Linked DNA regions of Homo sapiens: region 2 is linked to region 1. Evidence: promoter capture Hi-C in human tissues and cell types (Jung and others, 2019). All regions are on one chromosome and are shown on one strand. The core of a region is centred on a gene start or on the middle of the fragment in contact, and the rest is flanking DNA. Distances in the headings are between cores, read along the strand shown.

Region 1 (3,993 bases), core at 1,068-3,567:
AGGAAGCAAGTTGCCTTGAGCACTTAGGAAGGGCACATTGATGATCAACTGATATTCAAAGTTGCTTCTGCTTTGGAGATGGATGACAGAAACTCAACACTTACTGGCATCCCCATGTATGCAATCTCATTGCCCTACCCCACACTGGGACTTGGGACCTGGCTCTCACCCAGGTGCTTTGAGATAGGAAGTGGCCTTACTCTCCACTTTACCTCCTGTTGCCCTGGGGAGGGGTAGGGCATGGTGCTCTGGCACTGCTACCCTTTCCCTTGGCCCTCTCTACCCTTCTCCCAAGAGAACTGCTAATGCTTTTCCTTTAGGGCTTCATGCCCTCCCATTCCCTAATCACCCCTACTGGGCAGTCTGGTTCCCAAAGCAGCTCTCAGGGCTGTTGGGTCAGGACAGGAGGGGAGCACTCCTGGAGAGCTCTGCCCCACCCACCCCTCAGGGAGGCAGCTTGGGAGGCTGGGACACCTCTCAGCCCCCTCCTCTGGCAGAGCGAGCCTGCTGGCGAGGGAGACCCGACTCCCAGTGGGCGTCCTGCTGTAATCAAGACTGAGTGGCAGCCTCTGGCTGAGCTCCACCCTGCCCAGTTGGGGCTGGCCTCAGCCTCAGGGGACAGCTGCCCAGGCAGGTCAGGAACCTGCCCAGCCTGTTTGTCCCCCATCAAGACAGTTATGTGCCTCTGTCCCACCAACTTGTGATGGTGGGGACAGGAGAAGGGATGGTATCTCCCTCTGCCATCCCACAAATATTTACTGAGGGTCAGGGGCTGAGTGTACAATGGTGAACAAAAGGTGCAGAGGCCCCGCTTTATTGGAGCCTACAATTCAGCGGGAAGCTAGTTTTTGTATTTTTAGTAGAGACAGGATTTCACCATGTTGGCCAGGCTGGTCTCGAACTCCTGACCTCATGATCCACCCGCCTCAGCCTCCCAAAGTGCTGGGATTACAGGTATGAGCCACCACGCCCGGCCCAGCAAATGTAGTTCTAATTAGGCACCAAGTACTATTCTAAGTGCCTTAGACCATTTAATGCTGACAGGCCTATGAGGTAGGTAATATTATTGTTCCCAGCCGGGCGAGGTGGCTCATGAAGCCACCTCTGTACTACATACATACTTCATTACTTCATGTATGTACTACATACATACTTCATTACTACAACATAATGAAGCCCCGTCTGTACTAAAAATACAAAAAAATTAGCCGAGCGTGGTGGCGCGCGCCCATAATCCCAGCTACTCGGGAGGCTGAGGCAGGAGAATCGCTTGAACCCAGGAGGTGGAGGCTGCAGTGAGCCAAGATCGCACCACTGCACTCCAGCCCGGGCAACAGCGCAAGACTCCGTCTCAAAAAAAAGATTCAGTGACTTACCCCAGGTCACAGAGCTGATCAGTGAGTTGCCTAGAAATCCAATCCAGGCAGTTTGATGCAAGTTCACGCTTAGACAGCTATGAGATAGCTCTACTGCCCCTTATACCAGTCAATGCATCACTACAAAATGTGGTAGGTGCCAGAAAATAAAAGTACGAGGGTGCCTTGCAAGAAAATGGGGATTTCCCCTTTCTTCCACTTTCTCTTCTAGCCCCCACTGCACAAAGCCTTTTCAAGTCTTCCTACTTCACCCCTTTCATTTCTGGCCGGATAGAGAATACTCTTTCATCTCTGCAGTTATGGTGCAGGAAGGCAGAGTCCTACCTGTATCCTTGCCCCTGGCCTGGTCTCCCTGATCAACCCGCGCCTGAAGGGTTTCTTTCTAATAATGGCCCTGGTGCTTGCGCAAGTCTAGACTGTCAGCTCCCAGAGGGAAGGCGGCTGGCAGCTGGCTCTGCGCAGGCTGGGGGCGCCTCCCGGGCGTGCAGCCTGGCACAGGCTCCTTGACCTTGGCTCTCTCCCCACGTGCTAGGAGCCCGGTTGGGGGCTCGGGACCCGCGTGTAGGACCCGTCCAGAGAGGTCAGTGGTCCAGACTCCTACACTCCTAACACATGCACCCTCGCATGCACGTTCCCGAGCCCGCGCGGGGTCCGCCCCGGGACAAGCCCATAAGTCGCGAACCTTCCAGCTCCGTCTGCCCAGACAGGTGGCCCGGAGCGGGGACCCCCTCCCCTCGGCTGCCCCGCGCGCCTGGCCCAGCGAGGGCGGCTCCGGGGCGGGGCGGGGCCGGCGGCGGGAGGCCCCTCCCCGGGGGCGGGCCGGGGGCCGGGCGGGGGGGGGGACTGGCGGGGCCTGGGGGCGGGGCGGGGCGGGCGGCGCGGGGGTGTCCCTCCCTCCCTCGCTCTCCCCGGTAAAGTCTCGCGGTGCTGCCGGGCTCAGCCCCGTCTCCTCCTCTTGCTCCCTCGGCCGGGCGGCGGTGACTGTGCACCGACGTCGGCGCGGGCTGCACCGCCGCGTCCGCCCGCCCGCCAGCATGGCCACCACCGCCACCTGCACCCGTTTCACCGACGACTACCAGCTCTTCGAGGAGCTTGGCAAGTACGGCCCGCCCGCCGCGGTCCCCTGCCTGCCCTGCCGCCCGGGAGCTATGCGGCTTCTCGCCCCGCCCCCCGGCCCTGCACCGGCCGCTGCGGCTCCCCCTCGGCCGCCCCACCCCCGCCTTTCCCGCCCGCCGCCTTCGGTCCCCGCGCCCCCCGCGCACTGCCCCGCATCCCCCTCCGCGCCCTGCAGCAACTGGCGGGGCCGCTGCTCCCCACGCGCCGCCGCGGACACCGCAGACCCCGGACCGCTCCCGGGTGCCCTCCAGCCCCGCCCCTCCGCACCCTTCAGGCGCCCCCCTCCCGACCACCTCCCAACGCTGCCCGGTTGCTCACTCCGCACCCTGAACCCAGGTCCCACGCGCCTCGCACTCAGGACCCTCCCCAGCCCTGCAGCCCTAGCTCTGCTGCGGAGCCCGGGCGTGGGGGGGCTGTTTGGCGCCCGGCCCCGCCCCCCGCGGGTGCCGCTCCAGGCTCCCAGCCCCGCGGCTGGGCAGTGCTGCGGCACCCCCGTCCCCTCCCCCCACCCCTGCAGTGGTCCCGGGAGCCGCGCCGCAGCCTCAGCATCCCCCTCCCCTCCGCACTGAGCTGGCCGCTGCAGCAGCCCCGGCCCCCCACCCCCACCCGCGGCGCCGAGCCCGGCCACTGCAGCCCCCGCCCCGCCCGCCCCCCCAGACGTTTCCAGAGCTCAGAGTGCGAGCTCCCGTTTGACGGGGACGTCAAGGAAAATAGCATGGGAAGGGGAGTTCTTGATGTCTGACTGTGTCCTCTCTTCCCTTGCTGTCAGTTGAGCCGGGATGCAGTGAGATGAAACCGGCTGTGGGGGGGTTTGAGCCTCACTTTGCCCCATGGTTGAGGGAGATTTCTCTTTCAGGGGATGATACCCTCTTTTTAATCTTTCCTTCCCCGACCTTCAACTGTTCCTGCTGAGAGAAGGGCAGGGTCTCTCTGCTCCCTTCTGCCCTGGTTCTCTTGGCCGGGACCGCAGGGCTGTCTGAGATGCAGCAGGTGTGTGTTTTCAGCATCGCCCACCCGCTCCTGATGTGCAGCCTGAGGTGGAGGCTGTTGCCTTGCCCAGGGACTGGATGAGGGGGTGGGAGCGCGGCACGCCACCCACATCTGTTCAGTGTCCTGCGGTGGCCGCGTCCTTTTGCCTCATGTTGGATGGTGGTGGTCACAGCGCCGGTGTGTGTGCATGTACGTGAGTGTGACTAGAGGTCTGGTGGTGGGAGCATCATCGTCCCCAGACTTGAAGTGTGTCTGTGTCACTCTGCCCTGCTCCGTGTCCCAGTTCTTTTCCCCTTCTCCCTCCAGGGGTGCTTTCTCTGTGGTCCGCAGGTGTGTGAAGAAAACCTCCACGCAGGAGTACGCAGCAAAAATCATCAATACCAAGAAGTTGTCTGCCCGGGGTGAGTGTTCCCTGTCTTGACCTCTTCCTGAGGGTGCCTCCAGGGGCCATGGTTTCTTTTGAGGAAGCCCCAGGAATTGGGGGTTGTGCGTTTTAGCACTTGGAGAGGAG
Region 2 (3,748 bases), core at 516-3,015, 330 kb before region 1:
GAGGATACCATCATTCAAACCATAGCAATATACCACTTATCTATGCTGGGTGCGGTGGCTCATGCCTGTAATCCCAGCACTTTGGGAGACCGAGGTGGGCAGATCACCAGAGGTCAGGAGTTCGAGACCACCCTGGCCAACATGGTGAAACCCTGTCTCTACTAAAACTGCAAAAATTAGCCGGGCATGGTGGCACATGCCTGTAGTTCCAGCTACTCGGGAAGCTGAGGCAAGAGGATCGCTTGAACCTGGGAGGCAGAGGTTGCAGTGAGCTGAGATTGCGCCACTGCACTGCAGCTTGGGTGACAGAGCAAGACTCCAACTCAAAAATAAAAAATAAAAAAATAAAAAAATAAAAAATATATATATACATAGTACTTATCTAAATACTTATCTAATGGTGGCTCAAAATGTAGGCTAAACACGATTCGTTTATATCATAAGGTAAGTTTTTAAATATATTTGGAAGAAATAGCCAGGAGTAACAATAGAGAAGACTCTTTTATTGTTAGGGTCCAAAGACTTGTTTTTTATCTTCAAGTACTTATTTGAAAATCAAAGTTAAAGATTAAAACCTTCCAAATATAAAATAGAACTTCAGCTAGCCACTTAGGACCAGCTGCTAGTAAAACATGTAAAACAAAGAAGTTACTCGAGCTCCCAGCAGCGTCATTGATGGCAGCAGCAGGCTGTCTAGAGCAGCTGCTGCAAAGACACTGGCTACAATTGGGGAGATGCAGCCAGGGCTGCATGCTCCACAGAGCCCATGGGAGCTGGGAACAGGTGGGAGCCACACCCACTTCCAAGTTGGCAGGGCTGGAGCCCCACCCTCCTGAGTGCAGCTGCAGCCACCCAGCCATGGCTGTGGACCCAGGTATCCCTGCACTCTCTGGGGCCCGGGAAGTCCCCCTTTCCCCTGCAGACTCAGAAGTGCCTGTTCCCATGCCTGGCCTCTCCTCGATCCCAGCACCTGCTCCAGGGTGGAGCAAAGTCGTGGCCAAGCCCAGGCACTGTCACAACCCAGCAGGTGTGCATGTGCTCGGGGCAGCACTGACATACCAGCCCCCTGCCCCCTCAGCCCCCTCTGGACTTTAGGTGCAGAGAAGCATGGGAAGGAGGCCAAGGTGGGACTGAGGGCAGCTCAATGGGGCCAGCAAGTACCCTCATCACCAACAGCCTGCACACTGTGGACAACATGATTGATGGCAGCAGGAGGCAGACACTCTCCTGGGAAAAAAGGGGTGGGTTCAGGTGAAGCCCTGCCTTCAAGCCAGGGACAGCCTGAAGCATGGGGGCCAGGCTATCAGTTCCAGGTGGGGTCCACTGAGGGGAGTGAGACTCATGGTGCTTTTTCCAGACCCACCCATAGCCGCCCATGGACCAATCAGCACACACTTCTCCCTTGTGAAGCCCATTAAAAACCCTGGACTCAGCCAGACTTACAGAAGAGACCTGGGACTACCAACTGTGGAAAGGAGTTACCCCCTCGGGGTCTCATCTCACTGAGAGGTGAACACTTGTCAGGACGACCTGCCTGCAGAAAGGAGCTACCCACTTCGGGTCTCCTGAGAGCTGTTCTGTTGCTCAATGAAGCTCCTCTCCACCTTGCTCACCCTCCAGTTGTCCCCATACCTCACTGTTCATGGATGCAGGATAAGAAGACCCACCAAGTGGCAGGACTGAAACAGCTGTAACACAAACAGAGCTAAAATATGCCTCACCCCACTCAGCACCTTGCAGGCAACAAGAAGGAAAGAAGAGCTGCAGCCCTTCTGAGAGCCCAGACCTAGGGGGTTCCCAATCCAGGGCTGTGACACTCTCTTTGGGGCTCTGTGGTTTCTGGTGTCTCCAAGCTTCTGGGCACCACCATATTATCCTCGTCCAGACGTGGGTTCCTACAGTGGAAGCCACTTGAGATGCATCAGATCCAGCCGCAAGCTTGCATGAAGCCAGCACCTGTGCCAGTGCCTGGAGATGCCCACCCCACCACAGCAGCCAGCATGAGTGGCTGTACACAGTGGCCAGATCCCATATTCGCTTGCTCACACACTCTTTGCCACGCCACTCTGCACCTGGCTCGCCCTTGGCAGGTGTGGGATCCAGGCTGGTAGCATGAGCCGAACGCAGCCTGCCAGGCCAAACAAGCAGAACAAGCCTGGCAGGCACAAGCAAACCTCAGGCAAAGGCTCCACCAACCACAGTGGCTTCTGGCTGGAAAAGCGACACCCTAAGGATCCTGTGACATCATCACACAGCTGCCAAGTCATAATCACTCTGATCACATTTGCCTGAAATTTTAAAAACAGTGATCCAAAAACATAATGTTGAGTGAAAAACAGCATACTAACAAAGACTACACATAGTATTAGCCCATAAACATTCATCTTCAGGTTATATATGCCTAACAAACATCTGGAGGCATGTTCACCAAAATAACAACACTGATTATATATGTGTGAAAGCTAATCATATAAATTGGGTCATTCTTGTCATATCTGACTAAAACAGGTGACAGGCTGGGGGGAAGAGCACTCAGCACACATAACATTGCTCCAAGAAGGTAATTCTCTGCAAGCCTGGCTGCTGAAACTGCCTGTTGTCATCTGAAAACAGTTTTATCCAGTAGCTACTGAAACAATGAGCTGTGACTCTAAAAGACTAGTTCTACTCACTGCAGTCACTCACCAATCAAAGCTTGCCACCTCCCCAAAACTAGTGCCAATGAGCTTTCTTTCAAAACAATACAAAACATTTCACCTTTTTATAAAACTTCCAATCTTATCTTTCTTCTTCAGACATAGCAAAGACCACCTGGTCTGTGTGTATATCCCAAATTTCAATTCTTGCTTCCCATATAAAATGTTCTACATTTATGGGTTTGTCTCTATACTTTATTTTACTTTTGAAATACACGATAAAATTTCAAATTTTTAAGTTGCTCTTTACTTTTATACATCATGATTTTTTTAAAATAGTGACCATGAATTAGTTGACTTCCTGAACAAAATATCTCACACTACACAAACAAAAGAGATCTAATTTTAAACCCATGAATTCATGTCCAACTGATTTTATTTTCTGTTTATTACAGCCTTTGATATATAACTGACATACAATAAACTGTAGACATTTAAAGTATACAATTTGATACGTTATATACCCATATAAGCATCACACTACCAGTTTTCCCCTAACGTAACCTTTATAGGGTTAAGAAAGTTATCGACATAGTTACCTAGGTTGCTTTAAGTTATTTTTTTTCATCAGGAATAGATATTAGATTTTGTCAAAAGGTTTTTCTTTGTCTATTGAGATAATTATATGGAGTTTTCTTAGACTGTTATGTTAGTTTCTTACTATAGTGAATTACTCTAATTACATTTCTTTTTTTTTTTTTTTTTTTTGAGACAGATTCTCAGGCTGTCACACTGGCTGGAGTGCAGTGGTGCAATCTCAGCTTACTGCAACCTCCGCCTCCCAGGTTCACCCGATTCTCCTGCCTCAGCCTCCCGAGTATCTGGGATTACAGGCACACACCACCATGCCCAGTTAATTTTTGTATTTTTAATAGAGACGGAATTTTGCCCTATTGGCCAGGCTGGTCTCAAACTCCTGACCTCAAGTGATCCATCCACCTCAGCCTCCCAAAGTGCTGGGATTACAGGCGTGAGCCACCACGCCCAGTCTTCTAATTACATTTCAAATGTTAACCTGCTCTACATTCCTGGTACACTACTTAATTCTGCAA

Evidence for each region. The method cuts DNA at HindIII sites, captures the fragments that hold promoters and counts their contacts. A contact is called where the count stands out against the background at its distance.
Region 2: a contact is called between a fragment that was not itself captured here and the fragment with the promoter of CAMK2G in region 1, in 3 of the 25 tissues and cell types used here (adrenal gland, lymphoblastoid cells and mesenchymal stem cells).

What each region holds. Positions count from the first base shown.
Region 1 is chr10:73,872,879-73,876,871 of GRCh38, reverse strand. It overlaps CAMK2G (calcium/calmodulin dependent protein kinase II gamma), which reads left to right and starts at 2,317. Exons shown (of 23, transcript NM_001367534.1): 1 at 2,317-2,475; 2 at 3,789-3,883. The coding sequence starts at 2,411. RefSeq lists an enhancer at 1,595-1,704 and silencers at 1,925-2,204, 2,215-2,374, 2,435-2,604, 2,865-2,924. The HindIII fragment of the contact is 10,637 bases long and covers 1-3,993 here.
Region 2 is chr10:74,205,332-74,209,079 of GRCh38, reverse strand. All of the region lies in intron 2 of ADK (adenosine kinase), which reads right to left. Among named protein-coding and RNA genes, the nearest start is that of ADK, 56 kb to the right of the region's middle. RefSeq lists enhancers at 1,539-2,069, 2,070-2,602. The HindIII fragment of the contact is 5,622 bases long and covers 1-3,748 here.